Regions from separate parts of the Homo sapiens genome. Here all the other regions are linked to region 3. Evidence: promoter capture Hi-C in 16 types of primary human blood cells and fetal thymus (Javierre and others, 2016). All regions are on one chromosome and are shown on one strand. The core of a region is centred on a gene start or on the middle of the fragment in contact, and the rest is flanking DNA. Distances in the headings are between cores, read along the strand shown. Region 1 holds the start of WNT10A (Wnt family member 10A). Region 2 overlaps LINC01494 (long intergenic non-protein coding RNA 1494). Region 3 holds the start of ARPC2 (actin related protein 2/3 complex subunit 2).

What was found. Contacts are between HindIII fragments. The CHiCAGO score rates a contact against its expected background, and 5 or more counts as called.
Region 1: a contact is called between the fragment with the promoter of WNT10A here and the fragment with the promoter of ARPC2 in region 3, in 7 of 17 cell types (non-activated CD4 T cells, naive CD8 T cells, naive CD4 T cells and 4 more). The highest score is 8.3, in non-activated CD4 T cells.
Region 2: a contact is called between a fragment that was not itself captured here and the fragment with the promoter of ARPC2 in region 3, in 2 of 17 cell types (total B cells and activated CD4 T cells). The highest score is 5.7, in total B cells.

Annotation. Positions count from the first base shown.
Region 1 is chr2:218,879,413-218,882,112 of GRCh38, forward strand. It overlaps WNT10A (Wnt family member 10A), which reads left to right and starts at 1,440. Exons shown (of 4, transcript NM_025216.3): 1 at 1,440-1,696. The coding sequence starts at 1,584. RefSeq lists silencers at 866-925, 1,146-1,355, 1,376-1,515. The HindIII fragment of the contact is 9,483 bases long and covers 1-2,700 here.
Region 2 is chr2:218,903,276-218,905,975 of GRCh38, forward strand. The region is part of intron 4 of LINC01494 (long intergenic non-protein coding RNA 1494); the gene reads right to left. Among named protein-coding and RNA genes, the nearest start is that of WNT10A, 24 kb to the left of the region's middle. The HindIII fragment of the contact is 1,258 bases long and covers 643-1,900 here.
Region 3 is chr2:218,215,751-218,218,450 of GRCh38, forward strand. It overlaps ARPC2 (actin related protein 2/3 complex subunit 2), which reads left to right and starts at 1,439. Exons shown (of 11, transcript NM_152862.3): 1 at 1,439-1,504; 2 at 1,713-1,794. The coding sequence starts at 1,721. It overlaps LOC101928487 (a long non-coding RNA gene), which reads right to left and starts at 1,436. Exons shown (of 2, transcript XR_923908.2): 1 at 1,278-1,436; 2 at 351-1,101. RefSeq lists an enhancer at 1,448-2,051 and a silencer at 1,573-1,622. The HindIII fragment of the contact is 6,430 bases long and covers 224-2,700 here.

The DNA of each region.
Region 1 (2,700 bases), core at 190-2,689, 660 kb after region 3:
GGCAGGAGCACGATCCACTATCAGGGCCCAGGCTAGCACCAGAAACAGACGGCAGAGCTGCCTTTCCCCTGCCCTCTGGCTCTCAGGCCCTTGCTTGGGCCCAGCACACTTGCACTATATCGAGGAGGGGCCCAGTGTTCAGTTGGGGTGGAGGGACAGGAAGATCTCAGCGAGAAGTAGACCTGAGCCAGGAGGCTGGTATTAGGGACCTCCTAGAGGACCATGTGCAGGTGGGGCCAGGGAGGGCCAGGACAAGACTGAGAGTATCTGCGGGCACAGGCAGGCAACACTCAGTGTTGGGGAGGCAGCTGCTGCGCTGGGAGTCAGGAGAGCTGCGTTCGGTTCTCGCTCTTCCGCTAATTTGCTGTGTGACCTCTTTGAGCCTCGATATTTTCTTGTGAAATAAAGGGGAGCTAAATAAACTATCTCAACGGCCACTTCTAGGGTTAAAAGTCTCTCTAACGCCTCCTCCCAGGACGTGCCACCCCGGGCGCTCCTACGCAAGCATTTTCTGGGGGCCTGACACTGCTGCCTCCCCGGGCTCACTGAGGAGACAAGGTGGTCCCCATGAGCCGCATTCCGCAAAGGGGCAGAGGAGGTCTCCGTGAGCAGGAGCAGGAGGCACCTGTTTAAGGTCACACAGCAAAGGGGAGAAGAAACCAGAGGCTGCCAAACTCCTCTGCAGGAGCCCACACCTGCCTCACACCAGGCAGGCCTGGGGGAAGTCCCTCCTCTGGCGGAGGAGGCGAAACACAGAGGCCAGCCCCTCCCCTCCAGCCCCTGCAGGTGTGTGTGTTGGGGTGGGATGGGGGCGCTCCCCAGCAGCTGCGTCTCTGCCAGGCACACACACCTCGCGGTAACACATATCCCCCACACAACCCAGCGCGCTCCACACACAGGCATCTTCCTGTGCACGCGCGCACAGACCCCAACACCTTTCCCTCTGTTGCCCTCAGCAGGGACGCTCCCACCCCCAGTCCCCAGCGGACGCAGTGGCCTCGGGACTCGTACACGCCTCCACGCCCCGCCGCGTGACGTCACGTGGGGTAGAGCCCTGAGACACTAAATGGCGGGGGGGTGGGGGGAGGAAAGGGAAGGCGGCAGAGCTCCCCGAGCCGGGACAGTCACTTACTCTACAGGCAGTGGGGCCCGACACAGACAGCGCCGCCCCCGCCAGCCAGCCTCGCACGCCCTCGGAAGCGCAGGCTCCCGGCGCTGCGCTGGAGGGTTCCCCGGCACCCCAGCCTCCCGTCCCCAGCCCGCTGCACCTCCGGGCCCCCCTTACCCTTGAGAGGCACCGGGAGTTGTCGCGGGGGGGCCTCGGGAAATTCCCCGGACCCCTGTGCCAGGAGGTGCCCGGTTCGCCCGCTCTTCACCCCCCGCCCCCCCCGAGGGCGGTGCCCGGGGGTGCTGCCCCATGGAGCGGGGAGGCGGGCGCCGTCTGCTCCGGGAGCCCTGACCCGAGTCGGAGCTGTGTGTCGCAGCCGCCCCGACCCCCCGCCGATCATGCGCCGGCGCCCCTGGCTCTCCAGTCCCACTGGGCTGTGAGCCCCCCACTCCCAGCCCGTCAGGGCCTGCGCGCCATGGGCAGCGCCCACCCTCGCCCCTGGCTGCGGCTCCGACCCCAGCCCCAGCCGCGGCCAGCGCTCTGGGTGCTCCTGTTCTTCCTACTGCTGCTGGCTGCTGCCATGCCCAGGTGAGCCCTCACCTCATGCTCCGCCCTCCTAGAGAGTTGGGACCCCGGCCTGCAGGGGCCTCTGATGCTCTTGCTGGGGTAGAGGACCCTGGAAGAAGGGAGGGACAGGGTCATAGGAAAGTGCTGGTGCCCAACCAAAGGCAGTGAGCTCCCTCATAGGAGGGGGTTGGACTGGTGACAGGATATGGGCAGTCCAGGGAGACAAGGCAGTGCCCAGGAGCATGATGGCAACTAGGAGGGGAGGTGTGTGTGGGGGGGGAGCAAGTGCCAGTCTGGAGTTCCTGCCCTGTTGGGGGAATGCACCCCCACCTCAGGAGTAAGCACAAGCTGCCTCACTCCTTCCTGCAGCTCAGCCCCAGGTAGGGGCAGGGGTTGGGAGGCTGGAAGGGGGTAGCCCAGGTGGGGTCAGTGAGAGACTGCAGCTGCAAGAGCTGTGTGTGTGTGTGTGTGTGTGTGTGTGTTTTCAATCGAGCCCAGGATCCCAGCAAACTGTGTTGGTAAACAGTAGTTTGTATGTGTGCCCATGTGTGCATGTGAGAGCTCATGGGTCAATGTATGTTAAGATGAACACATGTGTAAATGGGAGTGTCTTTGTGTGTGTGTCTGTAACTATGTCTGATGAAGTGTGCATGTGCGTAAGTGTGCTGGGGTTGGGTTTGTGTGTCCACCACAATGTGTGCAGAAGTGTGTCTATGTGAATGTGACTGAAACATATCTGTGGGAGTGGGCTTGTGGGGAACCCTGTGTGTATGGGCATCTATTCCTGGGGATGTGCATAGGAAATACTGTGGCCACAAGCATGGTGGATGTGTGTGCATTTGCACGCTTACCTGTGTGGGTGTGCAGCTAGCTGAGTGAGTTGCACTGGGCAGGATGATTGTGAGGAGGTCAAGGAGAGAGGAATGTGTAGGAGTGTACTGATGGGCCCAACCTTCAGAAGCAGAGGTTGGAAGAGGGAGTGATTATGGCCGTTGGGACAGAGTGTGTGTTGTTAGATGGGGCTC
Region 2 (2,700 bases), core at 22-2,521, 690 kb after region 3:
GCAGTGGTGTGATTTCAGCTTACTGCAACCTCTGCCTCCTGGGTTCAAGCAATTCTCCTGCCTTAGCCTCCTGAGTAGCTGGTATTACAGGTGTGCACCACCATGCCGGGCTAATTTTTGTATTTTAGTAGAGACAGGGTTTCGCCATGTTGGCCAGGCAGGTCTTGAATTCCTGACCTCAGGTGATCCACCCATCTTGGCCTCCCAAAGTGCTGGGATTACAGGTGTGAGCCACCACACCTGGTCTCCTGTGATCTTTCTTGAAGTTCCAGCTGCCAGCTAGACATGTTTTAATGTATGCCTGTGATACCACCCACTCAAGCTTTATTTTATTTTATTTTATTTTTGAGACAGAGTCCTGCTCTGTCACCCAGGCTGGAGTGCAATGGCGCCATCTCAGCTCACAGCAACCTCTGACTCCTCTGCCTCCCAGGTTCAAGCAATTCTCCTGCATCAGCCTCCTGAGTGGCTGGGATTACAGGTGGCCTGCCACCACGCCCAGCTCATTTTTTGTATTTTTAGTAGAGATGGGGTTTCACTATGTTGGCCAGGCTGGTCTTGAACTTCTGACCCCAAGTGATCCACCTACCTCAGCCTCCCAAAGTGCTGGGATTACAGGCGTGAGCCACCATGCCCGGCTCAAGCTTTATTAATGCAGATTCATTATCTTATGTATGTATTTGCTAAGGGCTGAGACTTTGTTTTGTTTACTGTTCTTTTCTCAATGCCTAGCACAGTGCTTGGCATAGACCAGGCATTTAATATTTGTTGAATAAGTGAATGAATGACTTTCCCCTCCAAACCAGTTCTCCTTAACTTGCTTGTTTCTCTTTGTCACATCATCATTTTCTTAGTCACTGAACCTCAAAACTGGTGTAAACTTGGACTCTCACCTTCTCTTCTCCTTTCTATATTCAATCAGTGGCCAAGATCTGCTTATTCTTCCACTTCATTCACATGGTCAATATCCTAGTTCACCACACACCTCAAACATCACAACGACCTTCCAACTAGCCTCTGTCATTCCTCTTTCTTCCTCTTCAATCCATCCCTATCCTATTGTTCTGTTTTTCTCTCCCACGAAGTGCTCTGATCATGTCATTTCCTCTGACTAAAGCTCTCAATGGATCTTTGTACCAATTTGGGTTCTTAATTGCAAACAACAGAAACAGACTCTGGTTCACTTAGTAGAAGAGGAATTTACTGGGATGACATCAGGGAACTCAAAGAATTGACAGGAAGCCTCAAGAATCAGGCTCAGGAAGCAAGCAGGAGCCAAGAGAAGCTAGGCAGCTAGAACTTTAGCTAAATCCTGTCCCAAGTGCAGCCTGATTAAGGGGCTTGGGGGCTGCTTCCCACATGGCTACCACCACCCTGAGCACTTGCTGCTGCCACCTCTGGGATGAATTATAAACAGTCCTCTTCCTCCTTGGGTCACTTGTTGAAGATTTAGAGTCCTGACTGGGAGCATTGATTTGGCTGTGATCTTCCTGCTAGGGGCCAGGTGAGCAAGTATCTGACTTCTCACTAAGACTCACATTAGGGAGGCTCCACCAACATATGAAGGGGGCTCAGATGCTGGGCAGCTAAAGACTCCAGTGTGTATCCATATGCAGGTTCCTGAGCATTGAAGCCCTCCACCATATGCCACAAACGATCATCTCCAGTTTTTTCTCACTTCCACACCATGTTCCACTGAAGCATGACTGTGTGCAGTTCCCTGAGCAGTCCTTTCCTGCCTCAGCCCCTGTAATAGCTGGGCCCCAAAGGTGGTCCGCCTTGAATCATGCTTCACACCTGTGTATTGTCCCCTCCCCTTGAAAGGGCCAGTCCATGCTTCCTTTTCACTGAGTGTGCTGTGGAAGCGAAGCTGCATGACTGCTGAAGAGAGGGAATAGGAAGCTTTGCAGTTTTTGCCTCAGTCGCTCGGAATGTTCACTCTGGGGCAAGCCAATCACCGTGTATGAGGTCTGTCTACCCAGAGACTACCATGCTATGAGGAACCCGAAACAAGCCACATGGGAAGGCTGTATAGAGAGAGTAATGCCTGGGCAGGCCCCTTCAGTTCCAGCCAATTCAGATGAGGTGCCAGACATGTGACTTTAAAAAGTCATCTTGGGGCTGGGCTCAGTGGTTCACACCTGTAATCTCAGCACTTTGGGAGGCCGAGGCAGGCGGATAACTTGAGGCCAGGAGTTCAAGACCATCCTGGCCAACATGGCGAAACCCCATCTCTACTAAAAATACAAAAAATTAGCCAGACATAGTGGCACATGCCTGTAGTCCCAGCTTCTCGGGAGGCTGAGGCATGAGAATCACTTGAACCTGGGAGGTGGAGGTTGCAGTGAGTGAGATTGCGCCACTACAGTCCAGCCTGGGTGACGAAGTGAGGCTGTGTCTTCAAAAATAAATAAATAAATAAATAAATTTTTAAAAAGTCATCTTGGATATCCAGCCGAGTTGAGCCTTCAGATGACTCCAGCCTTAGCCACCATCTAACTGAACTGCTTGAGAGACCCCACGTGAGAACTGCCCAGCTGACTGTAGTCAACCCACAGGACTGTGGGATGTAAATGGTTATTTTTAAGCCACTGAATTTTGGAGCGGTTTGTTACTCAGTAATAGAAAATGGAAACAGCCCCTCTGTGGTCCATGTTTCCCTCTCTCTGGAATGTACCCCAACTGTCCTGCCTTAGCTCC
Region 3 (2,700 bases), core at 189-2,688:
CTACTAAAAATACAAAACATTAAAAGGGCATGGTGGCAGGCACCTTTAATCCCAGCTATTTGGGAGGCTGAGGCAGGAGAATCGCTTGAACCGGGGAGGCAGAGGTTGCAGTGAGCCGAGATCATGCCATTGCACTCCAGCCTGGGCAAGAGTGCAAGACTCTGTCTCAAAAAAAAAAAAATTTAAGTTAGCGTATAATTTTAGGGGATCAGCAATATCCTGAAGCTTATCCATAGCCCGTTAAGTAATGTTTCAAAGGGCTATCTGTGCCTTAATGATAGGAGCTAGTTTCTTGTTCATTTTTTTATCCCCATCCCCAAACACATAGCAGAAAATAAATTATTTCCTTGTATGTAGAACGGACTCAGCTAAGTTTATTATATTCTCCCCGGAGGAGGGAAAACACAAAACAAGGCACAAAGGCAGAAGGTGCAGATGTAGCACAACGATGAGTTAAGATTCCGCACGCAGGTAACAAGGAGGGTATGGTATATCTCTGCCAGAGGTACTGGAAGGTTTCAAAGGCAGAAAAAAATGTGTTCCGGACACCTGGACGCAGAATTGGAGGCATGACAGGAACACAGGGAGGCCCATCTAAGTTGCCTATTCACCCAGGTGACCTCTCTTTCATTTCTTTAATTGTCCTTTTAACAATATGGGGAATTTCACCCAAGGAAAGGGTCCTCTTCTCGCCCCAGCAGGCAAGGGGTGTTCCTCCAGCGCAAGTTCCGGCCCCAGCTGCCCCCACGTCCCACAGGTCTCCTGCCTTTTGGCACGCACACTCCTGACCACTCGCTGCTTCCGCATCCCTACTCTGATCCTCTCCCCATGCATCTCTGCCTCCTTAGACAACTGAGAATTTTATTGTCTGTTTCCTTTGCCAGACTGTAAGTTCCACGAGGGCAGGGCCTCGTCCATTTCATTTACCACTACATCCCCAGTATAGAGCAAGAGCCCATGAAAATGTTTGTTGGAGAAATGAATGCATGATGGTGTCGCTGGACAGCTATACCTGGAAAGAAAAAGAGGCACCCCCATCAAACAAGCTGGGAGCTAAGAAGCCCGCTGGGAGACGACAAGGGCGAGCTTCTTGCGAGGTTTCTGAAATGACAAGACCGGAAGAATGGAGTTGGATCTCTGGGACAAGCGGGAGAGAGAAGCTGAACAGTCAGGCAAGCCTCGGGGAATGACAGCTCCGCGGGGGACGCACTGGTAGGCGGTAGACGTAAGCGGGGTCGGTGGGAAAGTAGACGGTGGGGCGGCGGCATCACACATACGCAAGCGCAGCCTCCGTTTCCTCCGGCGCGCCTGCGCTCGCGTTCACGAGTGGTTGAAGCGGAAATGGCGCCGCGGGGCCGCGCGTCCAGGCGGCGAGCGGAAGTGGGTGTGAGAGCGGAAGTGGCCGGCTAGAGCCGGGGGCTGGGCGGGGACCGGGCTTGTCGGTGAAGCGGCAGTGGCGGCGGCGGCGGCGGCTCGGCAGGCGGGTTCAGGCTTCGGGGGCCAGGTCGGTTGGGTGGGTGGGTGTCTCCACAGTCTGCGTGCGTGGGCCAGCGCGTTCGTCTTACCCTTCCCTCCACCCCGGCCCCTCTCCCCTTCTCCCCTAACCTCCTACCCCACCCAGCCCCACTCAGGGGGCAGCAGGGCCGCTCCCTCCGTCCTTGCCTCCCTTACCCACCCTCACCGGCCCTTGTTTCTCCTTCCCCTGGGGGCAGCCGCCGCCATGATCCTGCTGGAGGTGAACAACCGCATCATCGAGGAGACGCTCGCGCTCAAGTTCGAGAACGCGGCCGCCGGGTGAGCGCGCGCCCGGGGCCGGGGGTGGCGGGGGAAGCAGAGTTGACCCCAGCTAATCCCCAATGTTGTCCAGTCCCCCAGACCTGGAGGAGAGAAATGGGGTGCCTGGCAGGGTGTAGGGGCTGCCCCAGCGGGGTAGACGTGGGAGGCGATTGGGCGCGGCCGGGCGAGGGGCAGAGATGCGTGGGGAGAGGCTCAGAGGAGGGATGCGGAAGCAGCGAGTGGTGAGGGCTGTGCGTGCCAAAGGGCAGGAGACCTGTGGGACGTGGGGGACCCTGGAGCCGGAACTCGCTCCGGAGTAGCCCCCTGCCCTCTGGGGCGAGAAGGGGACCCCTTCCCTGCGTGAAATTCCCCGGCATTGTTCTGAACCCAGAGAGAGCCTGTTTGGAATTGGGTTGGAAGGAGTTTTCAGGAATTCCCAGGACTGGAGGAGGGAAGGAGATGCAGGCCCACATCGCCACCAGCATTCTCGTTCCCCACCCCCATCTCCTTTAAAAGGAGCAGAAGAGAAGACTAAAAGCCGACCCAGTCTTAGAGCCGGAAAAACGCGATCTCTGGTTTCCCTTCCCCGAACCCTTCTGTGAGAGACACTGGGCCATTTTGTTACATATTTTTAAAGCAAAGCCAATTGTCCCTCGCTCCACACCCCTTCCTTATCTCTCCTTTGAGGTTCTAATGCTCTCTCCTCACCCACTAGCCTTTATCTGGTTATCTTGTAAATTCTTACATCAAGACCCTAGGTCTGTGATTTCTTCTGTGGTAGCCCTGGCCCAGTTACACACTTCAAAGACTCCAGAATCTATAAAGTTCTTAGATAACCTGTCTTTACGATTGGACTTTTTAAAAGATGGGCTTAGGGCATCTTTCCAAGGCAGCCTCTCTGCCAAACACAAGAATCAGTAGAAG